Linked DNA regions of Homo sapiens: regions 2 and 3 are each linked to region 1. Evidence: promoter capture Hi-C in human tissues and cell types (Jung and others, 2019). All regions are on one chromosome and are shown on one strand. Each heading gives the region's core, a stretch centred on a gene start or on the middle of the fragment in contact. The rest is flanking DNA. Distances are from core to core; before and after follow the strand shown. Region 1 holds the start of THUMPD2 (THUMP domain 2 tRNA and snRNA guanosine methyltransferase). Region 2 has its middle 180 kb from the start of LINC01913. Region 3 overlaps LOC105374497 (a long non-coding RNA gene).

The links. Contacts are between HindIII fragments. The study calls those that stand out against the background at their distance.
Region 2: a fragment that was not itself captured here is called in contact with the fragment with the promoter of THUMPD2 in region 1 in 1 of the 25 tissues and cell types used here (mesenchymal stem cells).
Region 3: a fragment that was not itself captured here is called in contact with the fragment with the promoter of THUMPD2 in region 1 in 1 of the 25 tissues and cell types used here (lymphoblastoid cells).

What each region holds. Positions count from the first base shown.
Region 1 is chr2:39,777,306-39,781,813 of GRCh38, forward strand. THUMPD2 (THUMP domain 2 tRNA and snRNA guanosine methyltransferase) reads right to left here and starts at 1,953. Exons shown (of 10, transcript NM_025264.5): 1 at 1,809-1,953. The coding sequence starts at 1,934. The HindIII fragment of the contact is 6,344 bases long and covers 1-4,508 here.
Region 2 is chr2:41,697,444-41,701,951 of GRCh38, forward strand. No RefSeq gene overlaps it. Among named protein-coding and RNA genes, the nearest start is that of LINC01913, 180 kb to the right of the region's middle. The HindIII fragment of the contact is 9,972 bases long and covers 1-4,508 here.
Region 3 is chr2:40,871,716-40,876,223 of GRCh38, forward strand. The region is part of intron 1 of LOC105374497 (a long non-coding RNA gene); the gene reads right to left. Among named protein-coding and RNA genes, the nearest start is that of LINC01794, 130 kb to the left of the region's middle. The HindIII fragment of the contact is 3,469 bases long and covers 381-3,849 here.

The sequences.
Region 1 (4,508 bases), core at 703-3,202:
ACACAGGTCTTTTGATTCTAAAGACCATACGTACTCTACCGTGGTGTTACAGAAATAAACTACATCCAATGTTCCAGGGAAGATTCCCATGGTAATTTAGCCTAGTGGTAAAGCACATGGGCTTTAAAGCTAGAGAGACTCAGAGACAAGTCCCAATTTTCTCTTTTTTTGGTAAAATATGGAGGTAAAAGTCTATCAGATAGGAGTCTTTTGAGGATTAAATCATAACATGCACATAACTTGTCTAACATTTTAAGTGTTTAATAAATGTTAGTTGTCATCACTGTTATTTCAGGATTGCCTTAACTTTGAGAGTTCACTTTGTATCAGAGCAACTTGGGTGGAATTTCAGAGATTATTTGTTCAGATCCCATTTCCAGACCTATCTATCTTTCAAACATACAAGAGCAGAATATGGAAATTCCCAAATCTACTGGCATTTAATTACTCCCACTGTCAAAAAGTTTTCCCTGTATTTAATTGAATTTTCTTCCTGGTAATAAAGTTTTCCCCATTTCATTTGTCTTTAGAGAAGATGGAGAACAAGCAGAGAGTCTTTCCTTTTTCTAATAATCCTACATATTAATTGGGCCAAGCTCTCTCTCTCTTTCATACCAAGCACTCTAAGTTAGCATTTAAAAAAACAAGCCAGCGCACCCCTATGTCATGGTCATATAGTGGGCCTGGTTTGAACATGATTATATACTCATTCTTGATTTCCCAGCTCGGGTTTGAATCCCATCTTTGCGATTTTCTAGTTGCATGACTTGAATAAATTCTCGGACTTACCTGTGCTTCATTTTTCTCATCTGTTAAATGTGGAACACCTACCTTATAGGGCTGTTGTGAAAAGTACGCAAATAAATATAGGGTAAAGATCTAAGAACATGTGCCTGACACATATTAAATGTTCAATAAATGTCAGTAGTTATTATATATTGATGCTTTTTAAGATTAGCTACATTCAATACTCTATTAAATTCTGTGACCCAAAACACAAGTGGCAGGTAGTCTAACAAAACTGACATAATTCTTCACGACTCCAACCTTTCACTGCAGAAACTCCTTTTGTGGGCTTCCCACACTGTAGGAGCTGCCAGGGTGGAGGGGTTAATTTCATTTAGGAAGCTCTCCTTTTCCAAGAGTACATCACTCACAGTGTCCCATACACCCCATCAAGATACCTTTTCTATTATACCTTCATCCCCTACTTTCAAGAAACCAGTTTTCAACATTCTAAAACCTAAACCGATGCTTAAAACCTTGTTCATTTCACAGAAATCAATAACAGATAACTATGAGGCCTGCAAGAGTATATTATTTTTCTGGCTGCTATTTACTGCGTGTTTAAAGTGTACTTTGCATACGCTATATAATTTAATTCTCACAACAATCCTATGTAGTCAAATACAATCACTGTCAAGAAACTAACAAAAAGTCAGGTAACTGAACTTGGAGATTATGTTTGCATTTAAAGAGCGAAGGGTTCTAACTCTGACAGGCCAGATTCTAATTACAGGCACTACTTACTACTTTAAAGAATCCAGGAAATAACTTGCCTCAACACCTCTCTTAAAAACTTGAGCCCTGAGAAGTGAGGAACTGGATTTGCTATACAAGGAAAGAAAGGAATGGTGGCTTCTCTCGGCCGGAGCGGAAGCGCCTGCCAGTCAACCTCGGGGGTCGGCGACCGTCGCGTGGAACAGAGAGGGGCGCCAGCGACGCTTTCCCGCGTCCACGACTGGGGTGGGCAACAGGGCAGGGACAGGGCCGCCCACCTCCCCAGGCGCGCAGCGAGGCCAACTCACCTGCGTGGCCGCCAGCCGCGCCCGCACCTCTCGCATTACGAACGGCTCCAGGCCGCGACCCGCAGTGCAGAAGAATCGGGCGCCAGCCTCAGGCCCGGACCCTGGCTCTCCACGCGCCTCCGACATGGCGGCTCAGGCGCGCCCTCGCGCCTTCGGGTCACGTGGCCTCGGGCGCGAGCGGCTCGCTCCTGGAGGCGGCGCGCAGGGGCGTGTGATGCCAAAGGGGAGAGGGAGAGGGAGAGGGAGAGGGGGAGGGGGAGAGGGAGGGGGAAGGAGAGGGTGAGAGAGACGGAGAGCCTGGGAGGGTCGCATCAGCCCTCTGTGGCCCCTATGGGTCTTCCTGGTTGACCATCTGTCCCCTCCTTGATTAGGCACCAGAATGGGTTAGAATCACAGGTGGAAGGGTTAGAATTGATAATTCAGTCCAGTTGCCTTATTTTGTAGATTGAGGAAATTAATGCCCAGAGAGGTCAAGAGACAGCGAGTTAGCAGCACAGCTGAGGCTGGAGCCTAGATTTCTCCCTATCTAACATAATGCCTTTTCCTCCATTCCTCCCAACTCCGTCCTCTTCCTGTCCTTCATTCCTCTCCTCTACTCTTCTCATAGAAGGAGCCCTGGTCTGTTTTCACAAAGAATCGGGCCAAACGTTGGAATCTCCAGGACGGAGAGCAGAAGTTCCTGTTCTCTAACAAACGTCTGCGTTCTGAAACAGCTCATATTTCTTGCACTACTTAGTTAACCATCCAGCCATAGATGAATCAATGTGCCATCTAGTTTTGGGCACCTGATTTGAATGGTTCTCCTAACGGTATTTGAAGGCATTTTTCTAAACTCTGAATTTTAAAATGGAAATGAAAATATTACTTGGGAAGCATAGACAGAATCCATGTTACAAGATAAACAGCGTGAAATTAGCTCTGTAGCTGTATATTGAGTCAGTTATACAGAAATGATAAATGCATGTGTGTCTCTGACAAGGGGCTGTCCTGTGCTTCAGAATGGGATGTTAAGGTGAAGAACTGATACTCCCTCACCTCCCCCGACACTCCCACACACACCCCCGCCCCCACCCAGCTCATGCTCTACTGGGCCGTACAGTAAAAATTCTTCATGGAGTCACATAACATGAGCTTTTCCAAGGTTCAGTCCTAAGACTCTTCTGATGCTGCTTTTTATTTTTTATTTTTTGCGACAGGGTCTCCCTCTGTCGCCCAGGCTGGAGCGCAGTGACGTGATCTTGGCTCACTGCAGCCTCCACCTCCTGAGCTCCAGTAATCCTCCCACCTCAGCCTGTCCAGTAGCTGGGACCACAGGCAAGCCCCACCACACCGGGCTAATTTTTGTATTTTTTGTAGAGAAGGGGTTTCACCATGTTGGCCAGGCTGGTCTCGAACTCCTGAGATCAAGCGATCCGCCTGCCTCGGCCTCCCAAAGTGCTGGGATTACAGGCACCCAGCCCTCACACACTACCGTTTTGATGAATTCTTTTCTTGCCCTCAGACACATGTTTTCCTTTTCTGGGCTACTGCCGTAGTTCATTTTAACTTCTCTATACTTTGGGGTTCTGACTGTCAAGTCTGTCTGGGGAGGACAGGAACCCTCTTTAGTTCTCTCTACATTCTGTGCCCAAGATGTTAAGTATGCAGATAGGATGCATTCCATTCAGTTCAACAAATACTGAACACCTATTCTCCGCCAGTCACCACCCTGTCTTGAGGATTCAAAGATGGGTAAGCAAGGGTTTGGACTTCAAGGGCTTAGAGGATGGTGAAGTTGAATGACTCACTGAGGACATACCCGGGAAGCTATGACAGCACCGACAAAAAGGAGGCAGGGAGGGCTTCCTGGACAAAATCGCTCTTGAGTCCAGCATGAAGGATGTGTAAGAGGGAGAAGCAGCAGATGAAAATGAGACGGCGTGTGGGGGGTGGGGAACAGGAAAGCCACGATAGCGGTTAAGTGTTATTAGAGCATAAAGTATATGAGTGGAGTAGATAGAGATGCGGTAGAGCGGTGGGTAGGGGCCCAGTTATGTCAGTACAACCAAAGGCAGCTGAAAAAATGAAATGACCTATTCAGTCCAGCACCGACCAGCAGTGTGCTGGCCTGGGTGAAACCACAGCTGAGCTGAGGCTGCAGTTTTGCAGAGCCAATCGATCTTCCCCTTACTTTCTCCTCTTTCTTCTGATGTCTTTTCCCCTCCAGGAGCCTTTGGTCAGCAAGGTCGGGGCTACTCTTGTTTCATATGTGGGAGTCATGTGCATTTGTTCCTTTTGAACTGTGCTGCAGTATGTCAGCTGTACCAATGCCCTTCACAAAATGCTTGCAGTGCGATGGAATGGGGGAGTTCTGCCTCTTTAGGGAGAAATTAGTTTCGTTTTCTGGTAAGAGAGTTGCCTGGAATTCTCTCCCCCATTACTCAGGTACTCTTTTCTCCATCATCTCTTCTTCTTTAAAAAAGTCTCTTCTGAAAACTATGGATCCCTATAGACAAATTTAGCATATCCAGCTGCAATTTACTGTTCGAATATTACATATTTCAACATGTAGGAAATTGGAAGTCGGCAGGAACAATTTTAGAATGGACAGACTTTTAAGTGGAGGTGTTTTAAGAATTTAGGACAAGAATATTTGCTTTGAGATAGCTCCCTATTTTGGTGCCACTGGCAATTCTTTTAGTTCTTAAAGGTGTATGATGT
Region 2 (4,508 bases), core at 1,450-3,949, 1.9 Mb after region 1:
TTCAGGAGGCGGCGTGCAGGTCTTCACGGGGCGGCGTGCAGGTCTTCACGGGGCACCGTGCAGGTCTTCACGGGGCAGCGTGCAGGTCTTCACGGGGCACCGTGCAGGTCTTCACGAGGCAGCGTGCAGGTCTTCACGGGGCAGCGTGCAGGTCTTCACGGGGTACCGTGCAGGTCTTCACGAGGCAGCGTGCAGGTCTTCACGGGGCACCGTGCAGGTCTTCACGGGGCGGCGTGCAGGTCTTCACGGGGCGGCGTCCAGGTCTTCACGGGGCACCGTGCAGATCTTCACGGGGCAGCTTGCAGGTCTTCACGGGGCAGCGTGCAGGTCTTCACGAGGCACCGTGCAGGTCTTCACGAGGCAGCGTGCAGGTCTTTGAGAGGCACCGTGCAGGTCTTCATGGGGCAGCATGGAATCAATCACAAGGTGGGGGTGCCATCTAAATAACCATGTGTGTGAATGATGAAGGGAAGGGACTCTTGGGGATCTTCTCTTGGAAAAGTCATTTCACCTATCTATCTCCCATTGTTCTGAGGCAGACAAGGGGAACAGCTGATCATTCAAAAGTCATCTCTATTTGGCTATGAAAAGCAGTGATTTGAGAACAATGTATACTTAAGCTGTTCTTTCTATCCCAAACACTCCTCTGTCTCTCTCCCTTCTCTGCAGCCTGAGACCAGCATGGAGATAAGGAATAAGGTTCTAAACTAGATGATCCACTGAAGCAAAGAGTTAAATGTACTTTCAAAGGAACATAAGGACAAAACCAGATTCTCCTTGGTGTACAAAGAATCCAGGTGAATTGTCATGGGAACAGTAAATGGATGTTAGATTATTTCTAGCTACCTTTGGTTGAGTACTTGCTGTGTGCCTGGCATTTCATGTACATTGTCTATCACCTTCACACAGAACCTACAGGGATGGGAAGAAAGATTCCAAGAGAGTAACTTACCCGAGGCTGCCCAGCTAGTGAGTGATAGAGCAGGGATTTGGACTCAAGTCTGCATGACTCTGAAGCTAATCTTTTTTTAACCCTAGTGAATTTCTAGGTATTGAGTGAGCAGTACTTCAGCATTGACCCCCATATGCAAAACAAGCATTTCCAGGTGGTTAAACTTATTTAAGGTGAGGCCCTCGGGCACACTATAGAACAAAGCTAATTGGGCTCAGCAGAGATCAAAACCACGACCTTGTCCTTATTTTATCTTTCTGCCACTGGCGTGCTTAAGGCAGACAAACACTTGCCATCAAACGGCTATAAAGCGTTTTATTTCCCTTCATATTGTGTAGGTTGCTCATTTATTCAAAGAACTCAGCCTTTCAAAATAAGCCACTGGCAAGAAGAGAGAAAAGGGATGTTCCTATAAATTATCCAGTGGAAAAGCTTTTACGGCATTCGACCAGGACTTGAAATGTGGGAGGTAGGACGCTGGAAATCTACCTTGAAGATGTGCAGAACCAGCGGCAGGTCCTGGTCCCCAGGAATGGGGGGTCGGCGCGGGGAAGGGGGGAACGGTCTCTGTTTGTCTTGCTGCGTGCTCACACTGCCACCTGCTGGCATAGCCCACATCTCCGCTTCCCCAGCTCCTGTCCACCTGGAGACCCTGAGAGATTGCCCACATTTTAGCATCTCCTTTCCTCCTTGGAAGGTGTCATACTCAAGAGAAATTTTTATTTCTAGCCAAACACTCTTTTTAGCCTGACAGCAAACGGCTAGTGGGAATCCATGTGCAAGGGAACTCTGTGTGAGGAAAACAGAGAGGGAGGGGAGCGAGGAGGAGTCTATGAGCTGGTGGCTGGGAAAATCTGCTGCACCGGTGAATCCAGTTGTCATTGTCAGGACCTTCAAGGCTTTTTGGCCATGACTCTAAGAACAAAACCTCCCCAAATCCCTTTTAAATACAGTGGGGTCCATTCCTCCCTACATATTTTCTTTTCCTACAAGCACAGCGAGCGTATCTAAGGGCGGGGAGGGCTTCCAGCTTGAGCACATAGCGCCATTATTTGACGAGAGCACAGGAAGCAGCCTTCATTTTAAAAGAATTTCAGTCTTTAACTTTCATTCACTCACAGCATGAAAATAAATCACTGTGCTTGAGCATTTTAAAAATTAAAGGCTTAGATATTACATGTTACTCAAAGGCTCCTATCTTCAAATACCTATTTCCATTAGCTATTACGGTTTTTAACTTTTCTTTTTCATTATCTTGTATTCGCTTCATGAGGCATTATGTAGATGCAGCAGACTGAAATGATTTTCTCTCATTCCAAACTAAAGATGATGATGAACTCCATTCCTCTGGGGTAAGTTTGGAATAAAAAGATGGGTTACAGAATACTGGAGGTAAAAGTCAGGGATCGATCTGGTGACTTGACTCTCATATATATAAGGTTCAACAACTCAATAATAAATAAATTTAAATCATTCCCTGATTCTACTTTCCAAAGGAAGACACTGAATGATTCACTGAAAGATTCTCACTTGCCCAAATCTCCAGTTTCTTAGTAAGGGAAGGTAACATGGAATTTCTTAACCTTTGTCTAGTTTTCAGATTGTCTACATCATTCACTGCATCGACCTCCTGTCTTCTGCTTTCTCATGCAGAATTGAAACATATATACCTCATCCCCAGGAGGTCTCGTTTACTTCCGTGACTTCAAGCACACCTGAGGGCCAATGATGCCCAGGTCTGCATCCTCAGTTCTGAACACTCACCCGAGGTCTAGACCCACCTCTCTAGCTGCACACTAAATATTTTCTCCCTGAATGTCCCATAAGCACCGGAAGCTCATTGTGTCTAATCTCAAGTCTTGGCCACCCTGGCCCCAACTTCCAAACATGCTCTTCTCTCATATAATGGCCCCAGTTAATGGGAAGACTATTCACACAATTGTGTAAATCCAAACCCCAAATGTCACCTGACACCCCAATGCTTCCTGTATGATATTGATCACGAAGTTCTCTCAGGTCTACTACCTTTGTCTCCAGCTATACTGACACTTCAGCCCTTTCCAAATGGACTGCTGAAATAGTATTGCAACTATCTACTTTTCCCCATATTCAATGATCTCTTTTTCATCCTTCACATGCAAAAATGTAAAACGGATCATATCCTTGACAGCAAAATTCTGTATGCTAAATTGGACTTCATCAAAATTTAAAACTTCTGCCCTGCAAAAGACCCTGTTAAGAGAATGAAAAGATAAACCATAGACTGGGAGAAAGTATTCACAAATCACACATCTGACAGAGGGCTTGTATCTAGAATATATAAATAACTCTCAATGCTTACAATTATAAAAACAAACAATCCAACCTAAAAACGGCCAAAGGACATTCACAGGCATTGCAGAGAAGAAGATACACAGATGGCAAAGAAGCACATGAAAAGGTGTTTAACACCATTTGCCATCAGAAAAATGCAAATTAAGACTACCATGAGATATAACTACACCTATCAGAATGACTAAAATTAAGAAAAAATTGGTAACATCAAGTTCAGGAGAGGATGTAGAGAAACCGAATCACAGGTGAGAATGTAAAATGGTAGAACCACTCTGGAAAATAGTTTGGCATTTTCTTTTAAAACTAAAAATAGACTTACCATACAACCCAGCAATTGAACTCTTGAGCATACGTCCCAGAGTAATGAAAATGCATTTTCACAAAGAAATTTGCACATGGATGTCATAACTTTATTTGTAATAGCCAAAAACTACCCAAATGCCCTTCAATATGTGACTGGTTAAACTGTAGAGCATCCGTGCCATGAAATACAACTCAGCAATAAAAAGGAATGAACTCTTGATCCACACAACAACCTGGATGAGCCTCAAGGAAGTTATGCTAAGTGGAAAATGCCACTGTCAAAGAATATATACTGCATGATTCCATTTATGTAACATTTTTGAAATGACCTAATTATAGAGGTAAAGAACCATTAGTGGTTGACAGGGGTTAAGGATGGGGCAGGAAATGGGTGTAGCTATAAGAGGGTAACACAAGCGAGTCTTGTGGTGACGAAAGAGTTACATAACCTGATTATGATAGTGGTTATATGATACTACACATATAAGAAAATTGCATGGAGTCCAGGCACAGTGGCTCACGCCTGTAATCCCAGCACTTTGAGAGGTCATGTTAGGAGGATGGCTTGAGGCCAGGAGTTCAAGACCAGCCTGGGCAACATAGCAAGACCCTATCTCTACAAAAAAATTATATAAAAAAGAAAAAGAGAATTGCACGAAGCTGCACACACACATACACATGATATAAATGAGTGCATATATTTACCTGCCAGATCTAAATAAGCCCTATGGATTATATCAAAGTTAATTTCCTGTTTTTTACATACTACAGTTATGCAACATGTTCACATTAAGAAAGGTTGGGTAAAGAGTGCATGACACCTCCTTGTGCATTTCCTTACATCTTCCTGTAAATGTGTAATTATTTTTAAATAAAGTTCTTAACTGATCATGCCACTCCTTTCTTGCAGTTATTTTTA
Region 3 (4,508 bases), core at 865-3,364, 1.1 Mb after region 1:
AGACACTACACTCAAACTTTAGAGTTATGGAAAAATCAATTATTAATTAAAAGATATATGCAGAAAAACAGAAATCTAATTTTTTAGGTAAACTTTTTCTTCCAAAAATACAATTTTGTAATGACCTAAATAGTACTACTTGAACTACCTAATTTACTTATGTGGGTATTGAGGGGATTCAAAATCAGTATAAAATACGAGTGCTTGGTTATTGAATGGGAGAACAATTACTGTTTCTTTTTGCTGTTCAGAAGAAAATAAAAGGTGCCGTTCTGTCTGATCAAACACGTGAGTCACATAGGTAATGATACACTGAAGAAGTTTAAAAAAACACAATTTTAAAAAGATTCCTAAAAGTGCCCTCTGAAGTTACATAAATGCCTATTTAGGAACTGAAACATCAAGATTAAATAGCAGCAAACTGTTTTATCCTAGTAGCAACCCAATCTTCATTGTTTGCTGCTTTCAGCGTTGTTTTTAACAAGTTGGTGTGTATATGTGCAAATGATCCAAGTGACCTAGTGAATTAACAAGTGGTAACTCCTTGGATAAAAGTCCCCCCAAAAGACAGTATATTATATATACAAAGGGCAAGGCTGTGTTGTTCACCAGCCTCAGGTCTTTCTTTCCCTTCCCTCCTTAAAGAAGCATAACAAAATTGTCCACAATGCAATATGTTCGTGATGACTATATATTCAATTACTTCTGAAAAGCCTTTGTGTAAGCGGAAGCCTAATCATTTCATGAGTGTGGAGATTCACTAAGCAAAAATAAATTCACTCAAAGCATGCCGTGTTAAGAAAAAGGAAGCCAATTTAGCAAAACAACACAAGAAGGAAAGGCAGTAAGGAGAAAATAAAAAGAGGAGTGAAGATCAAGTGGATCGTTAGAACAGTTCCACTTCCTTTAAAAAGATGTCCTTCAAAAGTACAAATGAATCTTCTTAAAAAAGAAAACAAGTAAGAGCTTTCTGCAAATGTTGAATCATATTATAGACGGGACTCCAACTGAGAATATATTTATACAGTTTAAGTGTATGTAATGACCTCATCTGCTAAAGGTGCTTTCATTTTTAAAACTCCTTCTGTCCCCTGGTGATACTGAGCTATCCTATACATTATTCAAAGCTTAGTAGAGGGATATTAATCACATTCTCTGCAATGTTTTGAATTAACAGGAAAATAAAATAAACTCTTTATGTAAAGAGTTTTCACCCAAGGACAAATTTTGTTTTTATTCCTTTCTATAATTCAATTGTTAACAAGACATCACTGAACTAAAACCAAATGAACCAGGTATTTTGTACTCAACTGATTTCCTTATGAAACTTCTTATGTTTTTATAGTTCATTAAAAATTACAAATTGTAGTCAAACTTTAGAGTTATTGAAAAATCAATCATTAATTAAAAGATATGCACAGAAAATACTCATACCCCCTGAAGGTTTAAGTAAAACAATGATACAGCCATTATTATAGTGACTACAAATATAGCGACTACAAAATAAACAAATATGGGTGAAGCCTGAAGGCTGGACCCTATTCTGACTCCCCAAATGCATGTCTGTGGCTTTTGTGACTGAAGACAAGGTAATGGCACAGTCTTAAGCCTCAGAGGACTGGTGTAGGGCCTCCTTGAGAGTGGAATTCAGGTCCCAGAGTAGTTTTCTCATCACTAGGCAGGTATTAGGTGAATAAGAAGGAGAAAATGCCTGTCTTAATAACTGAGAAAATGTTTTCAGCCTACTCTGCTGAAGGAAATTGAGGGCAGTGAATTCTGGAGGGTTCGTAAAGAAATTCCACACCTTGAAAATAACTGAGAACAATGACAATGACATTTTTTCTTAATATCTCTATTTCCAGCAAAGAGTTTTGATTATACGAAATCAATAAATATGTATTAATAGAATATGTGTGCTGTTGTTATCCATGGACCCTAAGCTGTGTTATAATTATTCAGCTAGGCACAGTTCATTCATGTGTTCTGCCATTGACTTGACGTTATTTTTTACTGCATTATCCTGCATCTCCTCCAAACTTCATCTCTTGTTTTCCCTTTTCTCCTTCTCATTTTTGATACCTCAATTAATCATGTAATTTAATCAATTTGATCCAAAATCTGTTATCAGTAATTTATATTAGCTGAATAATTGACAGATTTTACTTTGGCAATAAATCTGTATGTATGGAGAGACTGAATAAACAAATGGACAATGACCAGTTCAACATGAAAACAGAACTCTGACCAACAACCTCTAGAACAACCACTTTGGGAAATCAAACCACAACCTCTGCAGCGTGTGGCTCAGAATAGTCAGGACTTGATCAAAAACTTCCAGCTTCCCTAATTTTTGCCCCAGCTTTCTGCTTCCAATTTAGTATGAACTAGAGAAAGCCAAAAATGCTCCCAAAACAATCTCAGAGGATGCTCCACTCCTTTCAGCCTGCCTCTAGTTTCCCCATGCCAGCAACCTCCACTATGAGCATATCTGAAGCCTTCCATTAAAAACAAACGAAAACTCTAACCTTTTCACACTTTCCTACTTGCCTGTATATCTCTCCCAAATGCAACTGATGGTGGCTGCCTTCCTTCTTATTGCAAGCTTTGCATAAATCGCCTCTGCTTGCCCTCATTTAGGTGGTCTTCATTTACTTATACAATATTATTTCTATTAGTATTTATATTGCAAACTTATTTCTTATTTACAAAATAATGCTTTGCTTCTGTTTAAAAAATAAGTCAAGTATGGACGAACAGTGAAGAGATAATCAGATTCTTGACAGATGCTTCAGCCAGGTGATACTGTAACTCTAATTTCTACAGACAATTTACCAGGACTGACTGACACAGATCTTTTCAAACTTATGATGGTATTTGACAGCTGTCGGAGCTCGGTTTACTGAAAGGGCACTTTGCTAAATAGCTGCTTTTCATCTCCTGTCTATCTATCTATCATAAATAAAAGACATTTTCTTTTCCTGTTCCTCCCTCTGCTCCAAGACTTCAAAATGTACACCAATTTCTTTTAAGAATTATTTTATCTCCTAATTAAGACAATATGTGAATTTTTACTCCCTTTATATAACATTTTAGGATGTAGCCATGAGTGAAGAAATTGAAGCTTAGAGAATGTAAGTGATTTAATCAATAGCTAGATTTGGTAAGTACCAGATGCTTGCTCTGATTTTAAAGGCCATTTTCTTTCCTCTGTCTCACTCTACTACTCATATAGCTACCCCTTCTTTTTTGTCTCTCATTTATATGTAATTATTGTTTCCTAGTGCCCACTCTTTGAAGGATACAGATTGAAGATGCTCAATATAGGTTTAATGGATGACTAAAAGAGGTATCTTTGCCTTATTTTGTTCTTAGATTTAAAACACTTTAAGGACAGAAAGCATCTTCTTACTTTATAAAACCCTGAAACAATTCAGAGTCTATGCCCTGACTTTCTAATGTAATTTTCATTCTAGCAGTTTAACACAATGAAAGTCAAGATGTGGTGTTCATCATAAATCATATATAAAAGTACACATTGCCAAAAACTACATATCCACAGTACAACTCAGTAAGACATACTAAGTCCTTACTTAATGTTATTGATAGATTCTTGGAAACTGTGACTTTAAGTAAATCAATGTGTAACAGCTCTTCAAATAACATCCTTAGTTGATGAGAAAAAATTTGGTTTCATTATATGTGTGTTGCTTAAAGTCATAATTTCCACATACTTATCAATGATTTTAAATGAGGGCTTACTATGCTTTGGTGACAGTGAAGTAATAGGGTAATTGCCTATATGCATTTTTGTTTATTCTTATTTTAGAATGAATAAGAAAAATTTAGACATTATTATGTCATTGATTATTATTGGGACTCTCTATTCAAGAGGGTTCTTGAGGCAGTACAGCCTCAACATAAACTAGAAATATGAGAGAATACTCTTCCTTGAGAAATTTAGAAAAGGGAAAACACACATCACTTATTTAACAGGTACAATATTTTAAATGTATAATACTTTAAAATGGAGGAGATAAGAGGGCATGTACGAGCAAAAAAATTGAAAGATAAACAAGCTCTAGAAAAAAATTGTGGCTGTGTTGGTAGGTTTTTGCCCACTGAGGATTTTGAAATAAAATTAAAATTGCAGAGTTGGTTATGTATTAGAGCACACAGAAGACCTTTACTTATTTACTTGCTCAAAATATGTAATGACCACCCACAGTTTTGTTAAATGTCAAGTGAAGTTGGTCCATAGATTGCCCTCATCAATACAAAGGCCTAGATTTAATAACAGTTTCCTTCTGCCCTGAGGACTCAGTAAAACTGACAGACGTTTTACAAATAATTAGTTGTATGTTTGTCTCTAGTTCTAACGCAGGAGATGATGTACATAATAATATCAGCATTCTTGGTACCAGTTGGTCTAGAATCTTTCTTAAGAAAAGAATGTGCATAAAATGACAATGCCAAACATTTCTAATAAGAGAATAAACTAGAAAACTCTT